Regions from separate parts of the Homo sapiens genome. Here region 1 is linked to region 2. Evidence: promoter capture Hi-C in 16 types of primary human blood cells and fetal thymus (Javierre and others, 2016). All regions are on one chromosome and are shown on one strand. Each heading gives the region's core, a stretch centred on a gene start or on the middle of the fragment in contact. The rest is flanking DNA. Distances are from core to core; before and after follow the strand shown. Region 1 overlaps MANSC1 (MANSC domain containing 1). Region 2 holds the start of CREBL2 (cAMP responsive element binding protein like 2).

Region 1 (6,620 bases), core at 1,901-4,400, 280 kb after region 2:
CATGCTAGAAATAAACCACAGCATCTGGTAGAGAGGCGGCGTTATCAGATTCTCATTTAGCAATTTGTGTTTTTCCATTTTGCACACATTTCAATGAAATGTCAAGTATCAACAGTTTGGAGATTTTTTTGTTTAAGAGACAGGATCTCCCTATGTTGTCCAGGCTGGTCTCCAACTCCTGGCCTCAAACCATCCTCCTGCCTTAGCCTCCCAAAGTGCTGGGATTATAGGCGTGAGCCACCATGGCCAACCAGTTTAGGGATCTTTTGAACAAGCTGATATGTTTGTATTTTTTTAACCTACCGTAGCATGGAGTTACATAAGCCTTCCTTTTATTTTCCATACATTTTCAGATTTTCCATCTTTGACCAGAAATTTGCCAAGCCAAGAGTTACCCCAGGAAGATTCTCTCTTACATGGCCAATTTTCACAAGCAGTCACTCCCCTAGCCCATCATCACACAGATTATTCAAAGCCCACCGATATCTCATGGAGAGACACACTTTCTCAGAAGTTTGGATCCTCAGATCACTTGGAGAAACTATTTAAGATGGATGAAGCAAGTGCCCAGCTCCTTGCTTATAAGGAAAAAGGCCATTCTCAGAGTTCACAATTTTCCTCTGATCAAGAAATAGCTCATCTGCTGCCTGAAAATGTGAGTGCGCTCCCAGCTACGGTGGCAGTTGCTTCTCCACATACCACCTCGGCTACTCCAAAGCCCGCCACCCTTCTACCCACCAATGCTTCAGTGACACCTTCTGGGACTTCCCAGCCACAGCTGGCCACCACAGCTCCACCTGTAACCACTGTCACTTCTCAGCCTCCCACGACCCTCATTTCTACAGTTTTTACACGGGCTGCGGCTACACTCCAAGCAATGGCTACAACAGCAGTTCTGACTACCACCTTTCAGGCACCTACGGACTCGAAAGGCAGCTTAGAAACCATACCGTTTACAGAAATCTCCAACCTAACTTTGAACACAGGGAATGTGTATAACCCTACTGCACTTTCTATGTCAAATGTGGAGTCTTCCACTATGAATAAAACTGCTTCCTGGGAAGGTAGGGAGGCCAGTCCAGGCAGTTCCTCCCAGGGCAGTGTTCCAGAAAATCAGTACGGCCTTCCATTTGAAAAATGGCTTCTTATCGGGTCCCTGCTCTTTGGTGTCCTGTTCCTGGTGATAGGCCTCGTCCTCCTGGGTAGAATCCTCTCGGAATCACTCCGCAGGAAACGTTACTCAAGACTGGATTATTTGATCAATGGGATCTATGTGGACATCTAAGGATGGAACTCGGTGTCTCTTAATTCATTTAGTAACCAGAAGCCCAAATGCAATGAGTTTCTGCTGACTTGCTAGTCTTAGCAGGAGGTTGTATTTTGAAGACAGGAAAATGCCCCCTTCTGCTTTCCTTTTTTTTTTTTGGAGACAGAGTCTTGCTTTGTTGCCCAGGCTGGAGTGCAGTAGCACGATCTCGGCTCTCACCGCAACCTCCGTCTCCTGGGTTCAAGCGATTCTCCTGCCTCAGCCTCCTAAGTATCTGGGATTACAGGCATGTGCCACCACACCTGGGTGATTTTTGTATTTTTAGTAGAGACGGGGTTTCACCATGTTGGTCAGGCTGGTCTCAAACTCCTGACCTAGTGATCCACCCTCCTCGGCCTCCCAAAGTGCTGGGATTACAGGCATGAGCCACCACAGCTGGCCCCCTTCTGTTTTATGTTTGGTTTTTGAGAAGGAATGAAGTGGGAACCAAATTAGGTAATTTTGGGTAATCTGTCTCTAAAATATTAGCTAAAAACAAAGCTCTATGTAAAGTAATAAAGTATAATTGCCATATAAATTTCAAAATTCAACTGGCTTTTATGCAAAGAAACAGGTTAGGACATCTAGGTTCCAATTCATTCACATTCTTGGTTCCAGATAAAATCAACTGTTTATATCAATTTCTAATGGATTTGCTTTTCTTTTTATATGGATTCCTTTAAAACTTATTCCAGATGTAGTTCCTTCCAATTAAATATTTGAATAAATCTTTTGTTACTCAGTAGTGTTCTCATAAGTAGCATGTCCAGCTGGATAACTTTCCATTTATTTCCACTAGCAAAATGATTATGTGGTGAAAATATGCGTTCCACGTTAAAATGACAACCCCCCCTTTTTCCCATCAGTGAGCAAAGAGCTTCACTTGGGAGAATCTAGCGGAATGTTAGCCCACATGGAGACAATGATAAGTCAGTTCTGATAAATGGCCATATCCACTTGGGATCTGTTCTAGTTAACTTGTGTGTGTGTGTGTGTGTGTGTGTGTGTGTGTGTGTGTGTGACAGAGTCTTGCTCTGTCACCCAGGCTAGAGTGCAGTGGCGCGATCTCGGCTCACTGCCAGCTCCGCCTCCTGGGTTCCCGCCATTCTCCTGCCTCAGCCTCCCAAGTAGCTGGGACTACAGGCGCCCGCCAACACGCCCAGCTAATTTTTTATATTTTTAGTAAAGACGGGGTTTCACTGTGTTAGTCAGGATGGTCTCGATCTCCTGACCTTGTGATCCGCCCGCCTCGGCCTCCCAAAGTGCTGGGATTACAGGCGTGAGCCACCGTGCCCGGCCTCTAGTTAACTTTTTAAAGAAGTATTATAGACATTTTCTAAACTTGTACTAAGTTAAAAATGTACCACTATTATTTTATATCCTTACTTAAATTGACCAGCAATCAGTCTAAGCTTAATTTAGAACAACATTGGAAATAATAACTAGCACAGGCCAGGCGCGGTGGCTCACGCCTGTAATCCCAGCACTTTGGGAGGCCGAGATGGGCAAATCACGAGGTCAGGAGATCGAGACCATCCTGGCTAACACGGTGAAACCCCGCCTCTACTAAAAATACAAAAAATTAGCCGGGCGTGGTGGCGGGCGCCTGTAGTTCCAGCTACTTGGGAGGCTGAGGCAGGAGAGTAGTTTGAATCCAGGAGGCGGAGGTTGCGGTGAGCCAGATTGCACCATTGCGCTCCAGCCTGGGCAACAGAGCCAGACTCCGTCTCAAAAATAATAATAATAATAACTAGCACTAACATGATGCTACAATTTTTACTGGTTACCAATTAAAATTTCTGAGAAAGGCTTTTAATAAAGTTTTCCAGACAAGTTATAGGTGAGGTAACAAAGAGTCCAGAAGTCCCCTGGGTCAGTTTGATACCTCTTTCCTCTGGACTTCAATTTGCTTATCTGCAAAACAGGAAATTTGATCCCTTCCAAGTGTCACCAGAGTTTTTAAAGATAAAAATGGAATTCAGATGCGAACTTAATACAGTGAGCACTAGAGGGCAGTAGCTGGTTAATAAGTACAGCAATTAAGACAAATGCAGGAAATGACAGAAAAGGCTTTTCTTCTCCTTCCTCCTCACCTCTTCCTTCCTCCTCACCTCCTTCCCCTCTGCTCTTCTGGTACCCCTCCCCCATTTCCCTGGTTTACACTAAGTTCATAAAGTACATTAAGAGGAAAGCTGGTCTATTGAAAATACTACTTTTCTTATATTTTCCAACTTAACAGCTTGACACAAATCTCCAAGGGGTTTACATAAGCTTTAAGTAGGCTGAATAAATAAAACCTTGAGTCAATTTAACTTAACAAGTATTTATTGAATATCCACATGTAGGCCAGAATCAGATTAGTAACCAGGTGCCTTGGAATTTTAAAATTTCTCCTCTCTTTATTAATGGATTTAGCGAGTGGAAATCAGGCTTTCTGTGATGGTTTATAAAGGTATTTTCCTGGCTCTCTTGGAGTTCTCTGTCCACCTTGCTGCAGTCTTTGTTGTGATGGGGAGACCACATGGGAGCGGTCCAGATGAGTGATGCTACGGGCCCAAACTGTTAGTGGCCGTGAGGATATAGGTTGTAGGGGACATCTGGAGTGGAAAGAGTGCTCTTCTCACACAGCTCTCTCTACTTACTGCCCCTAGGATGGTGGGTGCAACTGTGGCAAGGGCAGTCAGGGTAGGGGAATCCCTTAGAGGAATTCAGCAGTGACTAGTCTGGTTAGCCTTTCCCACAAGGCCCATTGAGTTATGAGCCCCCTCCTTTGGTTTGTAGAAAGAGAAGGTAGCAGCCTAGAACAGGTGAGAAGATGAGGTAGGTCCTTCTGCTCAAACATCCTCTCTCCGTATTTTACCAACACGATACTGACCTAGGTTAAAAAGCTACTCTTGGCCAGGCGTGGTGGCTCACGCCTGTAATCCCAGCACTTTGGGAGTCCAAGGTGGGTGGATCACCTGAGGTCAGGAGTTCTAGACCAGCCTGGCCAACATGGTGAAACCCCATCTCTACAGAAATACAAAAATTAGCCAGGCATGGTGGCAGACACCTGTAATCCCAGCTACTTGGGAGGCTGAGGTAGGATAATTGCTTGAGGCCGGGAGGGGGCGGTTGCAGTGAGCCAAGATCGCTCCATTGCACTCCAGCCTAGGCGACAGAGCAAGACTCTATCTCAAAAAAATAAAATAAAATAAAATAAAAATAAGCTACTCTTAGCCAGGCACATAGTGGCTCACATCTGTAATCTCAGCCCTTTGGGAGACTGAGGTGGGAGGATCACTTGAGCCCAGGAGGTCGAGGCTGCAGTGAGCCATGATCACGCCACTGCACTCCAGCCTGGGCGACAGAACGAGAGCCCATCTCAAAAAAAAAAACAAAACAACAACAACAAAAAAAAAACTAAAAAACTCTTAAAAAACCTGAGGACTCCTGGATGAATACTGTTATGTGCCTGTTTCTCAATTACCCCTGGCCTGAGTGAGGAACTTTTGGAACTCTTTGGCTCCCAGACTGTGGTGGGCACTACCGGTCAGCTGCCCAGCAGCCAGCCCTAGTCCCACTTCTGCCTCATTTGTTACAGGTTGGAAGTGCCAGGTTCAGGGATGGGCCTGTGACCCAAGTTTTAGCTGAAAGGAAACCTACTAGGGACTTCTAGGAGAGATTTTCTTGCTTGTAAAGGGAAGGCTGCACAAGGAGAAAAGCCCTTTCTAACCACATCCCCTTATTTCATGCTTGGGATGCTGACCATGTGAAGACTTGGTTGTTGGAGCTGTGGTGGCCTCCCTGCCATGATGAGGGGAGAAGGCACTGCCACACTGAGCGTGGCAGTGGGTACAGGAAGAGTCCAGTCTCCGGGATGCCTTGGTTAATTGACAGGACAAACCCTGGAACTGCCAACTTCCATCTTGTTCTGTAATAATAAATCTCTAATATTTGTACCACTTTCAGTCGAGTATTCTATGATTTATTACTTATTGATAGCAAACACTTAGAAAGTACTTACACTATGGGCCGGGCACAGTGGCTCACGCCTGTAATCCCAGCACTTTGGGAGGCCGAGGCGGGTGGATCACCTGAGGTCAGGAGTTCGAAACCAGCCTGGCCAACATGACGAAACCCCATCTCTACTAAAAATACAAAAATTAGCTGGGCGTGGCGGGGGCAGAGTTTGTAGTGAGCCAAGATTGCACCCCTGCACTCCAGCCTGAGCGACAGAGCAAGACTCCACAAAAGAAAGTACTTACACTATGCGCCAGATTCACTTTTACATATACTAACTCATTTCAATTCCACAACAACCTTTTGAATAATTTTAATCCTTATTCTGTAGATAAGGAAACTGAGACACAGCGAAGTTTAAGGGCCTTTCCAGAGGTCACTTGCCCAGATAGCCTGGCTCCGGAGTTGCCACTTTTTACATTCTTATAACTGGAATGATACACGGTGTAACCAAAAAGAGGTTTGCACTAGATTGGAAATGTTCTAGAAAGCTTTTTGTTGTTGTTTTTGTTGTTGTTGTTTGAGACAATTTTGCTTTGTCACCCAGGCTGGAGTGTAGTGGCGCAAACACAGCTTACTGCAGCCTCCAACTCTCGGGCTCAAGTAATCCTCCTGCCTCAGCCCCCCAAGTAGCTGGGACTACAGGCATGTGCCACCACGCCCAGCTAATTTTTGTATTTTTGTAGATACAGGGTTTTGCCATGTTGGCCAGGCTGGTCTCAAACCCCTGGACTCAAGCAATCTGCCCATTTCAGCCTTCTGAAGTGCTGGGATTACAGGCATGAGCCACCATGCCTGGCCCTAAATAGCTTTTATTTTTATTTATTTATTTAGAGACAGAGTTTTCTCTTGTCGCCCAGGCTGGAGTGCAATGGCATGATCTTGGCTCATTGCAACCTCTGCTCCTGGGTTCAAGCGATTCTCCTGCCTCAGCCTCCTGAGTAGCTGGGATTATGGGTGTGCACTACCATGGCCAGCTAATTTTGTATTTTTAGTAAAGGAGATGGGGTTTCACCATGTTGGCCAGGCTGGTCTTGAACTCCAGACCTCAGGTGATCTGCCCGCCTCAGCCTCCCAAAGTGTCGAGATTACAGGCATAAGCCTGCCCCTAGATAGCTTTTTATTTTGGTTTTTAGACGGCATCTTGCTCTGTCACCCAGGCTGGAGTGCAGTGGCACGATCTCAGCTCACTGCAACCTCTGCCTCCCGGGTTCAAGCAATTCTCCTGCCTCAGACTCCCAAGTAGCTGGGATTACAGGCACCCACCACCACACCCAGCTAATTTTTTAATTTTTTTGTAGAGATGGGGTTT
Region 2 (6,543 bases), core at 2,584-5,083:
CATCCTGGCCAACCTAGTGAAGCCCCAGCTCTACTAAAAATACAAAAATTAGCTGGGCATGGTGGCACACACCTGTAATCCCCACTCAGAGGCTGAGACAGGAGAATTGCTTGAACCAGGGAGTCAGAGGTTGCAGTGAGCCAAGATCGCACCATTGCACTACAACCTGGTGACAGAGCAAGACTCCGTCTCAAAGAAAAAAAAAAAAAGAAGGTTGATATTTTAGACATCAATGGAATGGGGACTGTTTAAAAGGGAATACCTTACACAGATCACCTGAGGTCAGGAGTTCCAGACCAGCCTGGCCAACATGATGAAACCCTGTCTCTGTTAAAAAAAAAAAAAAATGCAAAAAGTTGGCCAGGTGCAGTGCTCATGCCTGTAATCTCAGCACTCTGGGAGGCCGAGGTGGGCGGATCACTTGAGGCCAGGAGTTCGAGACCAGCCTGGCCAACATGGCAAAACCCTGTCAGCCTGGCCAACATGGCAGGCTCTAATAAACCCTATCTCTAAGAAAAATACAAAAATTAATCGGTTGTGGTGGCATGCACCTGTAATCCCAGCTACTCAGGAGGCTGACGCAGGAGAATCACTTGAACCCGGGAGGCGGAGTTTATAGTGAGCCAAGACTGCACCACTGCATCAAGCCTGGGCGACTGAGCAAGACCCTGTCTCAAAAAAAAATTAGCCGGACATGGTGGCCCATGCCTGTAATCACACCTACTCGGGAGACTGGGGCTGGAGAATCGCTTAAATCCAGGAGGTAGAGATTGCAGTGAGCTGAGATCGTGCCACTGCACTCCAGCCTGGGGGACAGAGAGAGACTCCATCTCAAAAAAAAAAAAAAAAAACTAATGCCCTACAAATCTTACTATGGCAAAACTGGAAGAGTCTACAATGTTACCCAGCATTCTGTTGGCATTGTTGTAAACAAAAAAGGGAAAGATTCTTGCCAAGAGAATTAATGTGTATATTGAGCATATTAAGTACTCTTAAGAGCTGACAGCTTCCAGAAACGTGTGAAGGAAAATGATCAGAAAAAAAAGCCAGTGAGACCCTCATCTCTGCAAAAAATTAGCTAGGAATGGATGTGCATTCCTGTAGTCCCAGCCACTTGGGAGGCTGAGGTGGAGGATTGCTTTGAGCCCAGGAGTTCGAGGCTGCAGTGAGTTGTGATCACACCAACGCACCCCAGCCTGGGCAACAGTGCAAGACCCTATTTCAAAAAAAAAAAAAAAAAAGGAAACTAAATAAGAAAGGTACCTGGGTTCAATTGAAGCACCAGCCTACTCCACCAGTGGAAAACAGCCTGAGCTACTAGAACTTATTCCCTATGAATTCGTGGCATAATAGGGGTAAAAAAGACAAAAGGTGTAAAAACGTTTATCTTCATTGAGTAGAAGTGTGATGTCCTGGCCGGGCGCAGTGGCTCACACCTGTATTCCTAGCACTTTGGGAGGCTGAGGTGGGCGGATCACCTGAGGTCACTCGAGTTTGAGACCAGCCTGATCAACATGGTGAAACCCTGTCTCTACGAAAAATAAAAATTTAGCTGGATGTGGTGGCACACGCCTGTAGTCCCAGCTACTCAGGAGGCTGAGGCAGGAGAATTGCTTGAACCCAAGAGCAATTCTCGGCAGTGAGCCGAGATCGTGCCACTGTACTCCAGCCTGGGCGATACAGCGGAGACTCCGTCTCAAAAAAAAAAAAAAAAAAAAGAAAAAAAAGAAAAAAGAAAGAAGTGTGATGTCCCCTCCCCAAAGAAATATTCAAAGCAAAAAAAAAAAAAAATTACTTGCTGATTTTTCTGGAAAACTTTTAGAACGCTACCCTTCTGTCTTGGAAATACCACTTCCCCAATATCATACCCCACGAATGTTACTATAGTAAAACTGAAGAGTCTACAATGTTATCCCGCATTCTGTTGCATTGTTGTAAACAAACAAGGGCAAGATTCTTGTCAAGGGAATTAATGTGTGTACTGAGCATATTAAGCACTCTTATGAGCTGATAGCTTCCTGAAACTCGCCCCCCTTCTGTCTTGGAAATACCACTTCCTATTAAGAGGGGTTTACTACTTCACAAGCAATCCGTTCCTCTAGGTGAGTAACAATTCCAGAGTACTGCACTGGGCTTTCCCTTCCATCTGTCACTTCCTCACAGCCTTCTACATGAAGAGGAAGAGAAAACAAGAAGGAAAGAATAAAACAAGGAACACAGAGAAGTTGGAAATTTTTTGAATCTCTCTGAGGATATGTGAAACAAAAACTGCAGCAGCAGCAAAAAAAGACACCCAAACAAAGGACAAAGCTATCGTAAAGAGTATGCCAAAGACTGTGAAACAGAAGACGCTGAGAAGCACAAAGAAGGACGGTTTTTACTTTAAAAACTGGCAAATTTTAGAAGTCTGATTCCTTAAAATAAAAAAGTCCAAATCCAAAACAACCTGAAACATCAATAAACAAATCTTTGACCATCCCTATCTTCAGGAAATAAAACTAAACAACACTAATGTGGGTAGATGTAAAGAGAGAAAGGCGGCCAGGCGCGGTGGCTCACGCCTGTAATCCCAGCACTTTGGGAGGCCGAGGCGAGCGGACACCTAAGATTGGGAGTTCGAGACCAGCCTGACCAACATGGAGAAACCCCATCTCTACCAAAAATACAAAATTAGCCGGGCATGGTGGTGCATGCCTGTAATCCCAGCTGCTCGGGAGGCTGAGGCAGGAGAATCGCTTGAACCCGGGAGGCGGAGGTTGTGGTGAGCCGAGATCGCGCCATTGCACTCCAGCCTGGGCGACAAGAGCGAAACTCCGTCTCAATTAATAAATAAAGACAAAAAGGCTATACATAGATAAACTATTTGGATTAACCAATAATGAACATTATCTATTATTTTATAATCATAAAGTAAGTGATTTGGACAGGGAAATTGGATGGTGATGGGCTATTAAAGTTAACAAGAGGAAAATCAGTATTTTTTTAGAGAAGGCTTTCTAGTGGAGGTTAAACTCCACACTGGCCAAATAGCAACAGGAGCTTAGCGGTGTTCCAACCAACCACAGGAAATAGCTCAGAGGGGGAGTGAACTGATTATATGAATGGGGCATTGAGTAAGGGAGCCTGAGAGAAGGGGAATCGTCAAGGGGAATAAGGCTGGTTCAGCGTGCACTAAAGTCTCCAAACTGGAGAGAGGAGGCAGCAAAAAAGTGCAAGAAGAAAAAGTACAGTAGTTTCTTATCTCGACAGGCAAGTTAAGGACTAGGGGTTGCACTACCTGGAAAGCTAGCAAACGCCCTGGGAGTGAAAAATTTCCAGAGAGGGCCCTTCCTGGAAAAACGCAGCCCCGGTGTTCCCTGATTTCCTGGCTGGGTACCATCGGGCAGTGGACTGGAGAGGCGCAGGGATGTTTTAGGCAGGTGTCTCTTGGGTGTTGGCGTGGACTACATAGCGGAGGTTCAGCCGCGGGACTAGCATTGAGCGACAAGAAGGCGGCGGCGCGTGCAAACCACAAGACTTACCTTACTGTCATCCATCGCGGCAGACAGGCCGGCCTGGCCAGGCACTCCCTCCCGGAGCCCTCCCCCGGCTCAGCCGGCCTGGCCCGGCCCCCGCCCCGAGGAAGAAGGGGATATGGTTCTGGCTGCCTCCTCCTCTCGCCTAACAGTTCGCTTCCCTGATGCCAGAGTCACGGGGACGAGGGACCAGTTCAGGAATGGCAGAGCGGACCCTGGAGGCGGCCCCAAACGCCTCCCTTCGCCGCCGCCGCCTCCTCCTCCCCCTCCATGACAGTCTCTGGGTGTTTACAGACGCTCTGGAGAGCCGCCGAGACCGGAGGGTGGGCGGGAGCGCTGCACACGGAATGGCCCCTTCGGCTGCCGTAGCACCGCGGCATTCTGGGAATTGTGATTTTTCTTATCACAGTCTCTGCGCTACTGACTGGAAAAAAAACTACGATGTCCACATAGCCTCATTAAGGGGCAGCTGTTTTCCTTTTGCCTACTAGCTAGCGCTGAGGAGGCGGGGCTGGGCTGGAGGCCCAAAGTGCGCCTGACCTGAGGTTTTGGCTCCTAAGTGCCAGGGCCTGGAATGGCGGGGACGGGAGTTTGGTGCTCTGCGGAGGCAGCCCTGAAGGCGGGGTGCCGGAAGCAGGCCCTCCTCTGGGACGCTGAGGAAACCCTAAAGGTTCTTTATTTAAAAAAAAACGAAAAACAAAAACTAAGTATGTAAAATAGTGCAGCTACTTTGGGAAGAAATTTGGCAGTTCTTCAGAATATTGGCCACTCCCATACCCAAGAGAAATTAAAACGAGTGACTACACAAAAACTTGTATATAAATGTTCTTTCCTAGCAGCATTATTCATAATAGTCAAAAAGTGGAAACAACGCAAATGTCCTTTACTGGATGAATGGATAAACCAGTGTGGACTATACAAATTAAGAAATACTGGCCAGGGGTGGTGGGTCACGCCTGTAATCCCAGCACGTTGGGAGGCCGAGGCGGGAGGATTGCTTTAGCCCAAGAGTTCGAGACCAGCCTGGGCAACATAGCAAAACCTGTCTCTACAAAAAAATACAAAAATTAGTCGAGTGTGGTGGCACATGCCTGTAATCCCAGTTACTGGGGAGGCTGACATGAGAGGATCACTTGGGCCTGGGAGGCAGAGGCTGCAATAAGCCAAGATTGTACCACTGCACTCCAGCCTGGGCGACAGAGCCAGACACTGTATTTAAAAAAAAAAAAAAGAAGAAGAAGAATGAAAGAAGGAAGAAGAACGATGAAGGAAGAAGAAGGAGAAGAAGGAAGAAGAAAGAAGAAGGAAGAAGACCCATATAGTAAGATGCAGTCTCTACAAAAAAAATTAAAAATTAGTTGGGTGTGTTACAAAAAATTTAAAAATTACTTGGGTGTGGTGGTGGTGCTTGTAGTCCTAGCCACTCGGGAGGCCCAGGTGGGAGGATCGTTTGAGCCCTGGAGTTGGAGGCTGAAGTGAGCTGTGATCACGGCACTCCAGCCTGGGCAACAGAGCAAGACTCTGTCTCAAAAAAAAAGGAAAGAAATATTATTCAGCAATGAAAAAAAATGAAGGGATATACACACTTCAATATGTCTGAACCTTGAAAACTTTATGTGAAGTGAAAAAAGCCAGACACAATAGGCCACATATTGTATGATTCCATTTATAATGAAGTGTCTGGAACAGGCACATCTAAATAGACCAAAAAATCCATTAGTGGTTGCCAAGGGCTAGGGTTGAAGAATGGCAGGGATGGAGGGATCCTGGAAAGGAGAGTGACGGTTAATGAGTACTGGGTTTCTTTTTGAGGTGATGAAAATGATCTAAAATTCAGCCGGGCATGGTGGCTCACGCCTGTAATCCCAGCACTTTGGGAGGCCGAGGTGGGCTGATCACCTGAGGTCAGGAGTTCGAGACCAGCCTGACCAACATGGAGAAACCCATCTCTACTAAAAATACAAAGTTGGCCAGGCCTGGGAGAGCATACCTGTAATCCCAGCTACGTGGGAGGCTGAGGCAGGAGAATGGCTTAAACCCAGGAGGCGGAGGTTGCAGTGAGTTGAGACCGTGCCATTGCACTCCAGCCTGAGCAACAAGAGCGAAACTCCGACTCAAAAAAAAAAAAAAAAAAAAAGAAGAAAAGAAAATTATCTAAAATTGATTTTGGTGATGGTTGCACATCCTGTGAATATATTAAAAACCACTAAATTGTAGTTTAACTGTAGTTAAACCACTTTAAATGAGTGGATTATATCTCAATAAAGTTATTTTAAAAATAACTGGCTGTGTCCTCATTTAATAAAGTCAGTGAGCTTGTTTTTACTGTTGTTTTTGTTTTGGCCTACCTCGGGCCTTTGAGAACTTGACAAAGATTGCATATTTGTCAATGCTGCTCCTGAAGAGCCCTTTGGCTCACACCTTTTCAAAGACTCACAAAGTGCTTTCTCAACCCTTGCAAAATCCAACTGAGGTAGAGTTCTCAGATTTAGCAATATAGACACAGAATACTCAATTACATTCGAATTTCAGATAAACCGCAAATACTCTTTTAGGAAAGTGTGTCCCATGCAACTTTTTTTTTTTTTTTTGAGACAGAGTTTCGCTCTGTCACCCAGGCTGGAGTGCAGTGGTGCAATCTCGGCTCATTACAGCCTCTGCCTCCCAGGTTCATGCCATTCTCCTGCCTCAGCCTCCCGAGTAGCTGGGACTACAGGCGCCCACCACCACGCCCAGCTAATTTTTGTATTTTTAGTACAGACTGGGTTTCACCGTGTTATCTAGGATGGTCTCTATCTCCTGACCTCGTGATCCGCCCGCCTCGGCCTCCCAAAGTGCTGGAATTACAGGCATGAGCCACTGCACCTAGTAGGTGTATTAACTTCTAAAATTACAGTGTAAATCCTCAAGGACTTTATAATCCAGGAGGTGACATACAGAAAACTTAGACCATTCACTAAACAAAGCATCTGGTAAAAAATAATACAGATCAAGTTTAATATCTATGTGGTGATAAGTTGAAGGTAAG

The links. The method cuts DNA at HindIII sites, captures the fragments that hold promoters and counts their contacts. A CHiCAGO score of 5 or more calls a contact.
Region 1: a fragment that was not itself captured here is called in contact with the fragment with the promoter of CREBL2 in region 2 in 1 of 17 cell types (total CD8 T cells); the score reaches 5.6 in total CD8 T cells.

The regions. Positions count from the first base shown.
Region 1 is chr12:12,324,692-12,331,311 of GRCh38, reverse strand. MANSC1 (MANSC domain containing 1) reads left to right here. Exons shown (of 4, transcript NM_018050.4): 4 at 354-5,256. The coding sequence ends at 1,285. Among named protein-coding and RNA genes, the nearest start is that of MANSC1, 22 kb to the left of the region's middle. RefSeq lists an enhancer at 5,505-6,005. The HindIII fragment of the contact is 859 bases long and covers 2,721-3,579 here.
Region 2 is chr12:12,609,166-12,615,708 of GRCh38, reverse strand. CREBL2 (cAMP responsive element binding protein like 2) reads right to left here and starts at 3,833. Exons shown (of 4, transcript NM_001310.4): 1 at 3,522-3,833. The coding sequence starts at 3,536. It also overlaps the pseudogene RPL21P136. RefSeq lists a silencer at 3,480-3,779 and enhancers at 3,940-3,989, 4,040-4,119, 3,713-4,464. The HindIII fragment of the contact is 19,687 bases long and covers 1-6,543 here.